Linked DNA regions of Homo sapiens: region 1 is linked to region 2. The links are contacts of gene promoters, found by promoter capture Hi-C in blood cells and fetal thymus (Javierre and others, 2016). All regions are on one chromosome and are shown on one strand. Each heading gives the region's core, a stretch centred on a gene start or on the middle of the fragment in contact. The rest is flanking DNA. Distances are from core to core; before and after follow the strand shown.

Region 1 (6,210 bases), core at 3,261-5,760, 290 kb after region 2:
CTGCCAGCAATGTAAGATACTGGCCTGTACCAGGGCAGTGAAGAGAGAGAATGAAGCTAAGAGAGACATCAGTCATATCTAACTCAACCTAGACAAAGACAGGACTGAAAACCAACAGAAATGACTGTCTGCAGCAGGACAATGGTATGGGAGAAAAGGAGGACTATGTTTAATTTAAAAAGAGACAACAACTTAATGTAATGTGGGTCTTATTGGCTCTTGATTCTAACTAGCCGTATTAAGGATATTTGAATGTGGAGTAGCTACTAATTAATTGGTAAAGATGGATAAACTTATTTTTTAGAGATGTAGTATTAAAAAATTAGGATCATGATGTCTAAGATTTGTTTTAAAGTACTTTAGAAAAAAGGAAAAAAAAGATGAAGCAACTGTGACAATACATTGATAAATAATTAGTGTGGGGGATATTAACTATACTTATCAGTTAGACTAATCATTATACTAATTAATGTTTACGTTTGAAATTTTTCATAATAAACCATGTTTTAAAATGAACTGTATTTTTAAACCCATTCTGTTTGATACAATTGACAGACTTTTACATGGAGACTAATTGTCTGCTGGAAATTTAGACCTTGAGTTAATGTAGATTTGTGAACATCTGTACAGTGATGATAGCTGAAGCTTTGGGGGTAGAAGGGATCACCCAGGGAGATGGTGTAGAGCTAGCCAAACTACCCAACTGAGCACCCAGAGGAAGGCCTCTGGTTTAGGGGCAGGTAGTGTGAGATAAAATGATGAAGTCAGTGAAGGCATGAGAGGGAGCCCGTACCCAAGAGAGTGACATGTCTTATGCTCAAGAGCAGAAAGCTCTGCAAGGAAGAGCACCATGAAATAGGAACTAGAATATAGTGGAGTCAAAAGTATGTGACGAGGGACCAGAGGCAGTGGACATAGCGTTTCTTTCTAGGAAATTCTGTAGTAAAGTGAGAGATGGCAGGGGTCACTGCTTAAGCAGGAAATAAAACTGAGAAGGGGCTAAAAAGGATGATCAGAAAGAAAGATTACCACAGAAATCTGTATCCTATGTAAAAGTTAAAATGAAATCTAAAAAATATTTCTCTAAACTCAACTGTCCTTGTAGTTTAAATCATCGAATTTTTCATTGGCGAGCCTATCCTTTACTGCTAGTCTGTCCTAAAACCAGTTGTCATATAGCATTAGCGACATGTCTCATGCCTTACCTGTACTTACTACATAGGAGATGCTAAATAAGTACTTGATTACTTTTGGGAGGAAAAGACTGAAGACTAATTCTGAGAACAGATGAAGACTGAAAAACTCCGTTCCTATCTCCTCCTTTTATAACCCAATAGCTCTAATGTGCCAAATCTATTTGAAAATGGAATACGGAAATTGAACAGGCTATTACTTCCTTTAGTGTTCGGGTACAGACCTTTTGAGAGAAATCAGAATCTTCCATCATTTACTATGCTGCAGTGCTATAAGTACACCTGGATGGGCAATGACACTTCCCACTGTGAGACCGTACCGTAGGTGCCAAGTTCATCACTTATAAAGTGAATACTGAAAAGGAGTCTGCAGTGTCACAGGGCTCAGAGGTTCTTAACATAAAAACAAATTTTGAAAGTCTAAATGTGGAGCCAGGGAACTGTCATCTAAAAATCCTGATTAGAAGGGGAAAGGAAACCCTACCATTTTATTTCTTATTATTTTCTACTCTTTAATGAATCTAAAATTGTGTTCTCACCTTTGACTTTGCAATGTCTTTTCTCTTTTTGGAATTCTTGAACATCAAATACAAATTACACTTTGTAGTTGTTTCTTATGTAATTTCAAAGTAGAACCACCACTCAGAATTGAGTCCTTTTTTTTTTTGACATGAAATACCTTGCATATTTTATATAAGGAATCTTGTCCATCTCCTCCTGTGTCCTTAAAGTAGTCATGGGCTGGGAATGTTCGGTTAATATCCCGGGTGATAGCACTGTCCTGGGGAGACTCCTGTGGAAACATAAGGAAAGAGAGGGTTTAGTTAGGTTAATCATGTAAACTCTTATTCAGGTTTAGGCAAGGTCTTCTCATTTACACACTTTAAATGTTGCAGGGACATACATACACATATGTATGCCCATAGTTACTGCCTCTTCAGGGACCAACCACTCAAGCAAAAGCAAATGTAAAGGGGGAAAAAAGATGGAAGAAAAGCAACCCATTTCACTCTATACACTTCCATATTATACTCCATCCTTACTGCAAAGAACTGCAGCTGGTGACCCTTCTATTGTAAGATGGAAAATGTGCTATTAAGAATGGATTTCCTATAGGAAAATACTCAAACTAATCGCAAAAGGAGGAGGTAAAGTGCTCCCAGTAGAAAAACTGCTGCTTTAATTGATGCTTTGGAATGAAGCCCATATGCCAGTTTTCAAATGGAAAAGAGTAGTTACTTAATTGGGATTTGTCCTAGAGGCAAATGGCATAAGAATGCACAAAGCAATCTACTCAGTATGAACAAGACCACCAAATGCCAAGGGATTCAAACAGGCTATGGGAAAATATCCTTTGCTTTTTCCAATGGACAAAAACTGTTTCCTCTTCTATAATGAGTTAACTAAAACGGAACAAATGTCAATAATGTCAACAAACCTTTGTAAAATACACCAAGCACCCAGTTATTTCTAATATTCTCCCCTTGTTAAATTTCATTTGCTGACACAGTAAAGAACTGGAACACAGAAATATGACCTTCTACTTTAACAATGCAGTGTCTTCATAGCTAAGACAATAGAGTTGATTCCCCTTGGTAAGAATACATCATAATCAGTATACTACCAAAGAACATGATACCTCTGTTTTAAGATGAAAAATGCAAGTGATGTTCTTCTCTTGTCCAATAATTTCTCTAGCCTTTTGGGTAATCATGTTCCGAAGGCCATGAATATTTTATAGTTGTGGGATCTGAACTAACTTTAAAGCCTATGCTCCTTCTTAAACAGTAAACTATTTATACCTTCAAGGATGTCGCCAAATTGCTTTTCAAAGAGCTTTAGTGGCATATGTTACTTCTAGTTATTAACATAGTCTTAACAGTTAATGGCAGCTCAGGACTGTGGTGCTCTTCAACAAAAGGAAAAAATCCAAGGGAGATCTATGACTACAGCAGCTAATTACATGGTGGCAGCTTCCAGACTGAATTAGAGCTCCGCGTTGGAGGTATCTTCAAAAGTTGAGAAAGTGGGAGAGAGAGGGAGAGCAAGCGAGAGTGAGAAAATGAGAGAGCGAGCGAAGTGAGCGAGAGTGAGAGTGAGAGCGAGTGAGAGAGCACGCACACAAATTTTGGGGCGGGCAAGGTAGCTAGAATTGTAGGGTAGAGTGCTAGTGAGGAATATGCTGAACAGAGAGCTGAAGAGTTAGAAGAGGGGTCGCTATGAGATATGAATTATAAATAAACGACAAGCTGGACACTTCATCAAAATTTAAAAATCTTACTATTCAAAAAACTGTTTAAAATATGAAAAGGTAAGTCACAGGCCAGGACACAATGCCTACAAAACATATCTGATAATAAAGTTGGAGTTGTATCCAGAATATATAACTCTCCAAATTAATGAGAAAGACAATTAATTTTTTAAAGTGGGAATGTGTAAATGATTGAGGTGTTTCATTAAGGAAGATATAACACATGGCAAATAAGCACTTGAAAAGATGTCAACATTACTAGCCCTCAGGGCAGTGCAAATTAAAACCACAATGAGATTCCACTACATATCTACAAAATGCTAAAATTAAGAAGTGTTGGCAAAGGATAAGAAACAACTGGAACTCCTATACAATGCAAAATGGTACAAACACTTTGTAAACAGTTTGGTGGTTTCTTACAATAGTAAACACATAATTACCATACAACCCAGTGATTCCATTCCTAGGTATTTACCAAAGAGAACTGAACATATAAATGCATGAAAAGACTTAAACTCAAATGTTTACAGAAGCTTTATTCCTAACAGCCAAAACTGGAAACAATCCAGAGAGAATCAGATGAATTTAGGAATTCTATAAAACAACAACAGAAGCTCTAAAAAATGCTAAGAATGATAAACTGTGGTTTAAGACAACTACGAAGGTTAGGAAATTAAATTGAGAATGGAGAGGAATATGGAAACGTTCAAAATATTTTACACCAGTTACATCAATCATATCACACTGATTACGGAGATGACAACCTGAAAAAGGATACAGTTATTAGAGATATGAGATTTGGGCTGGGCATGGTAGCTTATGCCTGTAATCCCAGCACTTTCAGAGGCTGAGACAGGTGGGTCACTTGAGGCCAGGAGTTTGAGACCAGCCTGGCAACATGGTGAAACCCTGTCTCTGACTACAAATACAAAAATTAGCCAGGCATGGTGGCAGGTGCCTGTAATCCCAGCTACTTGGAAGGCTGAGGCATGAGAATCGCTTGAGCCAGTGAAGCAGAGGCTATAGTGAGCCAACATCGTGGCACTGCACTCCAGCCTGGGCGACACAGCGAGACCTGTCTCAATTAAAAAAAAGAGAGAGAGAGGAGACGAGATTTAGAAATTCAACTGTACACAGGACGTAAAAAATAACAAAAAACTGAAAGTACTCTCTATAACTGGGCCAGTTCTTGTCAATTTGCCATCCCATATCCATTAATCATGGAATTATCAGAGAATGAAGGGGCAAAATGCCCTTAAAAGAAGGTCATTTTGAAAATTCACACTCAATTTTTGATGCCTTCAAGAATGATAATAAATTGAGGAGTTCCATGTGAATCATTTGCTTAAAATATTTGGCCTTAAGGAAATATGCTGAAGAACTTGGAATAAATTCATTTGACTTGCTGGAGGCCACATCATGCAAAAGTGATGCAGAAATTCTAATAATGATGAGTTTAGTAAGTTCCTATCAGAATGACATTAAATTTGAAAAGGTTCTGAAAATAAAACACAGCAACATTATGGATGATCCCCTAAGAGAAAAAAAGCAAAGAGCTTTTCAAAATAGTCAAAGCAAGTGCTTACAAAATTAAGCTTTATACAACAATATATATTCCTTTTCTTTCTTGTTTCGCTCTTGTCGCCCAGGCTGGAGTACAATGGAGCAATCTTGGCTCACCGCAACCTCCGCCTCCCTGATTCAAGCGATTCTCCTGCCTCAGCCTCCCAAGTAGCTGGGATTACAGGCATGTGCCACCACGCCTGGCTAATTTTTGTATTTTTAGTAGAGACGGGTTTTCTCCACGTTGGTCAGGCTGGTTTTCAACTGACCTCAGGTGATGCGCACGCCTTGACCTCCCAAAGTGTTGGGATTACAGCTGTAAGCTACCACACCCGGCCATATTCCTTTTATTTCTAAGGAGTTAAACATAAATGTAACTGATGTAGAGAGCCTGCCAATGCAACACATGTAACACTATTCGTGGCCAAACTGATCAAGTCAACCAAATACATCCTCTTAAGGAGGCTGTAGTTAGTATAATGGCTTAACAGACAAGTTTTTATAAATGTACTTACGGCAACAGTGCACAGATGGTGACTTTAAAAGAACACGGAATGAATGGCAAAAGTATTGTCAGTTGTTACGTTCTGAAAATTACTGCTGTTATAAGAGAGGTGGGTTGTTTTGTTTTGTTTTGTTTTGTTTGATCAACTGGTTTTGTGTTTTGGCTAATTCATTTATCCCAAGAAAAACACCCTTAATTTCCAGAAGAAAACAAAAATGCAATAGGATTATGCACTATTGCCATCTTGCAAACTTCTTCTATAAAGGGTCAGGTAAAAATTTTTGGCTTTGCAAGCCATTCAGTGCTGCAGTTATTCAACTCTTCCCTTGTAGAGCAGCCATAGACAATATGTAAATAAACAAGCACTGCTGTGTCCTAACAAAACTTTATTTATAAAAGCAAGCGCATGCCAGGCGCAGTAGCTCATGCCTGTAATCCTAGCACTTTGGGAGGCCGAGGCGAGTAAACCACTTGAGCCCAGGAGATTGAGACCAGCCTGGGCAACATGGCAAAATCTCATCTCTACAAAAATACAAAAATTAGCCGGGCGTGCTGGCATACACCTGTCTTAGCTATTCGGGAGGCTGAAGCAAGAGGATCCCTTGAGCCCAGGAGGTAGAGGTTGCAGTGAGCCAAGACTGTGCCACTGTGCTCCAGCCTGGGCAGTAAGAGAGAGAGCCTGTCTTATACAACAATAA
Region 2 (7,197 bases), core at 3,269-5,768:
CAAACCCAGGGCCTCACTCCAAGCTTCCCGGAATCACGGGCCCACATTAAGAATACAGATTCCTGGAACCCACTCCAGACCCCAAATTTAGAACCACTGGGCCCTGAGCCTGAGAATCTGCATCGCAACCTGCTCCTGGGGGATTCCTTTCACTTTTAGGTGTGGGAACCGCTGACCTCAGGTTGTCTCTGTCTTCCAGGAGTGAGCCTAGGAGGCCACGATAGCCCAGGCCAGACAGGAGAGGCAAGGAGGGGCGGGGTGTGGAGGGCAGCAGGGCGGAGGAGGGGCTGTCCCCCCTTCCCGGGCCAGGCTGGAGGGGCGGGGCCTGTTGCCAGGGCAACGAGGGGCCTGTGCTTATCTTTACAAATCCCTCCTGACCTCAGGCTGCCTGGGCCGACCTGGCAGGGAGGGATTAACCGACGCCCGCCCCTCCCCTTCGACCTGCTGCCCTGTCCTGGGGAGGGGCAGGAGGACCCAGCTGTTTACTGAGTGTGTACTATGTGCTTGGGCCTGTGCATCTATTATTACATTGTTATACTTGATTCAGACCAGAAAAGGTGGGTGCCATTAAGAAAATTTCTGTTTTTGTAACTCAGAGAGGTTGATAATTTTGCCCAGGTTGAGACGAAGAATCAGATCAGCTCCTGATTTCCCAGAGGTCCACATCTCCCAATGCATGTGAAATTTTCACTTTACAAACCCTAAATTGCCACTCACATATTGTTGCTTTAGTACATTACAGCTGCCTCACCCAGGAAAAAAAAAAAATCTCTAAAGGTTTTCACAGGAATACAGCTTCCAATATCAGCCTGGGCAGAGCAGGCAATCTTCCCCGTCTATCCAGAACCCAGCTGTCAGTAATCCCACTGTGTCTCAGGCCTCACTCATTAGTAACTCCTACTTTTCATGCACTTAGAATGGGCCTGTTTATAACAGCCAACAACTGATGAGAAGTGTTTTACTGAAGCCAGGTGCAGTGGCTCACACCTGTAATCCCAGCACTTTGGGAAGCTGAGGTGGGAGGATCACTTCAGGCCAGGAGCTCAAGACCAGCCTGTGCAAACATAGTGAGACGCTGGCTCTATGAAAACAAAACGAAATAAGCCAAGCATGGGGTGGGTCCCTGTAGTCCCAGCTGCTTGGGAGGCTGAGGTGGGAGGATGGCTTGAGCCCAGGGTGTCGAGGCTACAGTGGGCTATGATTTTGCCACTGCACTGCAGCCAGGGCAACAGGGTGAGACCCTTTCTTAAAAAAAAAAAAAAAAAAAAAAAAACAAAACAAAAACGAAAAACCACAAACAAAAAAAGAAGCATTTACTGGGGAAGCTTCCTGTCCCAACAAATCAAGAGACAGAATATTTCTAAGAAGCGACCTAAGATCTCATAAGGTGTGGGAACTTCTAGCATAGGGGAAGAAATTGTTCATCTAATATCCCTGGGCCCCAAGGCTCTACCCTACAAGGGTAGGGCTGAATAACCATGGAGGCTTGCAGACACTCACTCAGTCATCAGGAAAGGGTGAAATTCTCTTTTGGGCAGAATAATTTGGCATACTCTTTTTCAAAAATGTTTACCTTCTGAGGTTAAAAGACATAATTTTGATAACAGTAATTGCAACAATAGCTGTCAGGGACGGAGCACCTACCCTGTGCCTGGCACTGACCAACCCTTGAGAGTTTGGGCTCAGAGCACAGTTCCAGGGAGTTACCTCCTGAAGTGAGGGGGAGACAGAGCAGGTGGGGTTCCCCACCTGCCACCCAAACAGGCCACTTTTAACAATTTTACTATTAACTATTCATGGGCTTCCATCTAAAATTTCCCTTGAAATTGGGGGTTCCATGCCAAAACCTGGGGTGGGGAACCGCTCACTGCATTCTCTTCCAATCCTTATACCAGCGCTCGGAGTAAGCCAGTCTGTCCTCGTTTTGTAGAGACAGAGAAGAGACGTGACTTTGCCTAGGCAAGTAGCACAGTGTACTGTGAAATCCCAGCACTGGCTCTGGGGCTTCCTGGCTCTGGGACTGGCCATCTCTGGGCCTCGTTTACCTCCTCTGTAAACTAGGGGTATCAGAGCTGACTTCATAGGCTGTTGGGAGAATTAAATTAGACCTCGTTAATAATAGCACAGTGCCTGCCATGGAGTGGCTGATCTTACTCATTAACAATTCTTTACTTGAGGCAGACACCCACTGTCCAAAGGATCCTGACATTGGGTTGAATGTGTGTGGCTTTCTGCTCCATCTCTGCTTCTGTCCTGCAGGCCCCCACCCCCTTCTGGCTGGAGGAGGGGCCGGACTTGGGGCCTGGACTCACTGCCCCTTTGTCTGCTGGGCTCCCTGGGTGTTTGGGGAAGGGAGGGTGGATATGAGAGCCCAACGTGCCCCATTGTACTCCAAGATGCTTGGTCCTCTCCATGGCAACCAGCCGGGCCTTTGTGGCAAATTGGGCCCAGGATGGAGAGGCCCAGCTCAGGGCCTGGCAGGGGTGGGGAGAAAAGCCAGGGGCCCATGGCCTCCAGAAGCCCCCATCCCCTCCAGGATGGAAATTGGTTTTCAAGTGACAAAATCCCCAATCCCTCCCCTCCCGGCAGGCAGTCTAGGGTACCAGCATGCAGAAATGGTCATGCCTGCAGTGTACCCCACCAACTTTTAGGGATCCCCAGGGATGGCGCTCCCAGCACAGAAATGGCAGAGGAAAGGCTGCCCCTGGGCAACCCAGCAGGCCTGATGGGTTGAGTGTACACACCAGTGTCCAGACCCCCCACAGCCTCCATCCACTCTGTGCCTCCAGGTCCCCTGTGAGTGCACACTGAGTGTGAATGCACACATGTCCACATGTGCGTGTTGGGGTGTGCACATTGGTGTGCAGGCACATGCCATGTGTGTAGGTAGGTGCATGTGCTGGTAGATCCACATGTGTCTGTAGCACCTGTCCCTGTGGTGCTGTGTGCCCTTGGGCATGCCACACAGGTGTGCGGAGTGTGGGTGTGTGAGCATCACAGGGCAGGGGACAGAGCACCGATCCACAGACCGGGATCTCACGTGCTTTGTATGCAGAGAACAGAGAGGAGCAGCCACCCCGCCCCCCGCCACCATGCCCCACCCCTCTATGGAGCCCAAGTCGCCTGCCAGCAGAGCCCAGCTCATAAGTCCCCGTCCCTCTCTGAGCCTTGGTTTCCTTCACTGCAAAATGGGGTCCTCATCCTCCCTAGGGCCCCATAGAGAGGATAGGAAATGAAAGCTTTGTGAGTGCGGGAAACATGAGGGTCCCCAGGTGGGACTGGGAGACACTTGGCCCCCACACCCTACAGCCTGTGGAGCTCTGGGGCAGGGAGGGCTCCCCCAGCCTCAGGAGAGCCCAGGCCCTCCTTGGCTCCCTCCCCAGCCTGTGGTGGTGGGGGCAGGGGACTTCCCAGGCCCGGCCCCTGTAACTATAGTAACTAACACCAAGCGTTCCCTTGGACCCCCCAGGAGGAATTCCAGGCTCCGAGAGCTTGGACAAAAGCAAAAAGGGCTTGGCAAATGTGGTCTGGCTTCAGGGAGCCCTTTCAGATTGGCCTTGGAATGCTGGGGAGGGGGCAGCAGGGGACACACACATGTTCCCAAATCCCCAGCCACCCCACAGGGACCCAGAGCATCCCCAGCAGCCCTCAGCACAGGCAGGGCTACCGCACAAATGGAGGGGTGCGGGCAGGCACCCAGCTCCCTGAGTCTCCCTCACGCTTCTCCACTCAGTCCCGAGTTGGGGTCGGCTGTGCACATCCCACACCCCTCATGTTGAGAGCAAAGACCTAGTTCAACCCTGGACAACCTACACCCCACAGCGTGTGCTAGGACACAGCTCACCACACCCAACTCCTCGGACACAACTCACGGCTCACCCCAGACAGCTCATCCACCTCCCAACTCTAACACACCCACAACCTGTGCCCCACAACCCAGCATGCGACACAGAACAAGCTCTGGGGTGAGGCTTATGCCACCTGCAACTCCCCAAACTCAGCCCCTAGAAACCCAGAAGTCCCCCAGCCCTTTACAGGATGCAACACAGCACCTCCCAAAACACGCACCCCATCCCTCACCCGCATCAGCTCCCCCAAATCATGCCCAGCCCCCGATCCCCCAACCCCGAAACTTACAACCCCCCTCAACATGAAACAGCCCCGAGCCTCAGAACACACTCACCTCCGTGGAGCCCCACAGAGTCTGGGGGCCACAGCCGCGCACTCCTGTGCACCCCACAGCTCAGGCCTGCACCCACGCGGACCAGCCCACCCACCACCCCAGCAGCCAAGGCTTGGGGTATCTGTCTTGGGGGACAGACCCTCTCCCAGGCCCCTCCAGACATGGGCCCCAACTCACCAGCCAGGAGGGAAAGGGCAGGGGCCCAGAGCAGCAGTAGCAGGACAGAGGCCAGGGCCTGGGGGTCCGGGGTCCCAGGCCTGGCCAGCGCCATGGCAGCCCGCTCTGCGCTCTGCTCGGCTGCTGTGAGAACGGGAGGGCGGCCTGGCTGGCTCCGCACCCCCCTCGTCCCTCCAACCAGCACTAATGCTGTGGACAGAGGCCCAGCCCCTCCCTCCCCTCCCCGCCACCGCCTCCTCCTCCCACCCAGGCCTCCTGGGCTGCTCCACCTCGTGGACGTCCCTAGACATCAGCCCCAAGTCCTCAAGCCCCCTAGCCTGTGGGGCTGACCTGGTCTTGGCACCCACTGGTTTCTCCCTCCTGACCCTCTGCCCCACTCTCCTCCCACCTCTCAGGTCAGCCTCCTTGGAGAAATTTCTGTCCTTGGAGAGGGGGCTGTTCAGGACTCTCGTCTCACCAGGTGATGCCAGCTACTCCCAAGTCCTTAGTTATCCCCTCTCCTGGATCCCCCTCCCCACCTCTCCAGCCCGGGCCTCTCTCCCAAGCCCAGGCCTTCGAGTCCAGTCGCCTCCCAGACCCTGTCTCTGCTGGGAAGCTGCAGCCCCTCCCACCCAGCTCGTCCCCCCACCTGCTGCTCCCCAGTGCTCCCATCGGAGCCAAGGCACCTCCCATCGGGCAGCCCAACGCCCCCTCCCCACTCCCCCCTCCCCACACTCGGTCAGCCCCTAGCTCCTGGCCATGCCACCTTCTCAGTGTCTCCTGCTGTCCCCACCCCGTCCCACCCGACCACACACAGCTCCTCCCACCATCGGCCTCAGGATCAGCTCCCTGCAGGGCACCTCACCCCTGCACCACGGTGGTCCCTGCCTCCCTTTACCCTCTCCACCCTTCACCAGCCAAACTGAACCTTTCCCAGCTTTCTTCCACTTGACCTTGATCTCTGGCTCTGCTGTTTGCAACTCCAGCGACCTCACTGCAATCCAAAGCAGCCCATTCTACTGAAAGGCAGCTCTAACCAAGCAAGCATTGCTCTCCCCTGCCAGGAAGTCCTTCTTGTTGTCTAACCTTATAGTCTCCTGCTGCACTCGATGTTTGCTTGCTCTCCAGCTGGCCTCTTGTTGGGGTGGACAGGAGGAGCTCTTCAGGGGGACCTGGTTCAGGAAGCCAGGTCATCTCAGAGACACTACAACATAGAACAACATTCCTTTCTTCTACCACCCTCAGCCCCAGTGGGGAGAGAATCCTCTTGCTGAAGGGACTTTCCTGAAATGAGCCACCGGCCCCTGCCAATACATGCCTGTTTGTCCCTATTCAGTAACCGTGGATACAGCCCACGCAGGCCCTGGGCTCTGGGATGTGTCCCTGACACGGGAGGACACAGCCTGGAAAGACAGCAGGAGCCATTGAGGGAGGTCCAGATGAGCTAGAGGGATGGGCAAGGGTCCCCTGCAGTGCAGGGGAGGGAGCAGTGGGCACCACACAGGCCCTGGCCGACCCTCTAGCCCGGGGCAAGTGCCACAGCCCTGGGTCCCCAGGGACCAAAGGAGGGAACCCAAAAAGGCCTGGGTAGACTCCTTATCCACTGCCCCTGCCCCATCCCTGCCCTTGAGGCCTGTTCTCTCCAGGGCAGGGATTGCCCCTTGGTTTCTGGGACACTAACCTCTCTCAGTCCATCTTTAATCCCCTGCCTCTCCAATACAACAGGATCCCTCTCCCCAGGTGGGAGAAGCCCCTCTCCATGCCACAGGAAAAGCAGAGGCCTCACAGCGTAAGAGATCTGGGTTCGAGCCCAGCTCAGCCACTGATTAGCCGGTGACCTCAGCACGTGACTTCCTTCTCTGGGCCTCAGTCTCCTCACCTGTAAAATGGTGGCGTTAGTGAGCCAAGGCGACAGTGCCAGCTCTCTTTATCCAGCTTCTCAGTGATCCCCCAGAGACCCAGGCAATCCCAATGGGGGGCTGGGGGGAGCACGGCAAGTCAACCACCACCCTCTGGTTCTCTGGATGCACAGACACAAACTCCCACACTTTCACAGAGCGGGGAGGTCACCCGGCGCAGGTCCAGTCTCCTCTGCAGCCCGGCCCCCAGCACTGTCCTGCAGCCGCCACACTCCACCTTGTGGCCAGACCTGGAAGTGTCTTGTGAGGTCTGGAGGGTATGGAGGGGGGCTCCCCCGACAGCACCGGGTACAGGAGTCCCACGTGACGGGGAGGAAGCCAGGGAGTCGCTGGACAGCAGGCAGGACGGAGGTCAGACAAGGGCACACCATCTTGACCGCTCCCTGGTCCGGATCTGGAGAAGGCAGTAAGAGTGGGCCAGCTCCTCTGAGATGGTCCCCCAGGTGCATCCACTTCCCCTGTCCTCCCCACCTGGGAAGGGAATCGACATAACCTCAGTTTACCCCCCCCCCACCCACCAGCAGCACTGCAAAGTCAGCATTGGCCCCATTCTATGGATGAGGAAACCGAGGCACAGAGAGGTGAGCAGCCCAGCACCAGTGCCTGGCAGGATTCGAGTTGGGTCTGCCCGACTCCAGCCTTTCCACTGGTGAACCTCCGACTGCAGGTTACTAACTGCCCCTCCACTAGCCTGAGCATGACTTGCTGCCACCTCCCTGGCTGAGGGGACGCTGTCCTGGGCCGGGATTCCCACCAACTCTCAAGCTGATGGGCACATGCGACAGCAAGGTTCAGTGGTTGGGAGTCCCAGCTTTGGCATCAGGCAGACCTGGGTTTGAATCCGGTTCCTGCTCTCTGCCCTTAGGTGAGCTTTTGTTGGTCTGTTCCTTTTCTGCGTCTTAGTTCTCCCATCTGTAAATGGGATCATCACAGCATCTG

Evidence for each region. Contacts are between HindIII fragments. The CHiCAGO score rates a contact against its expected background, and 5 or more counts as called.
Region 1: a contact is called between a fragment that was not itself captured here and the fragment with the promoter of CRB2 in region 2, in 13 of 17 cell types (M1 macrophages, activated CD4 T cells, total B cells and 10 more). The highest score is 12.0, in M1 macrophages.

The regions. Positions count from the first base shown.
Region 1 is chr9:123,061,124-123,067,333 of GRCh38, reverse strand. It overlaps RABGAP1 (RAB GTPase activating protein 1), which reads right to left. Exons shown (of 26, transcript NM_012197.4): 14 at 1,873-1,986. It also overlaps the pseudogene LOC100422501. Among named protein-coding and RNA genes, the nearest start is that of GPR21, 31 kb to the right of the region's middle. The HindIII fragment of the contact is 1,062 bases long and covers 3,980-5,041 here.
Region 2 is chr9:123,353,518-123,360,714 of GRCh38, reverse strand. CRB2 (crumbs cell polarity complex component 2) reads right to left here and starts at 4,518. Exons shown (of 13, transcript NM_173689.7): 1 at 4,361-4,518. The coding sequence starts at 4,454. RefSeq lists enhancers at 2,170-2,837, 6,218-6,387, 6,056-6,555 and silencers at 6,518-6,567, 6,588-6,697. The HindIII fragment of the contact is 7,167 bases long and covers 3,242-7,197 here.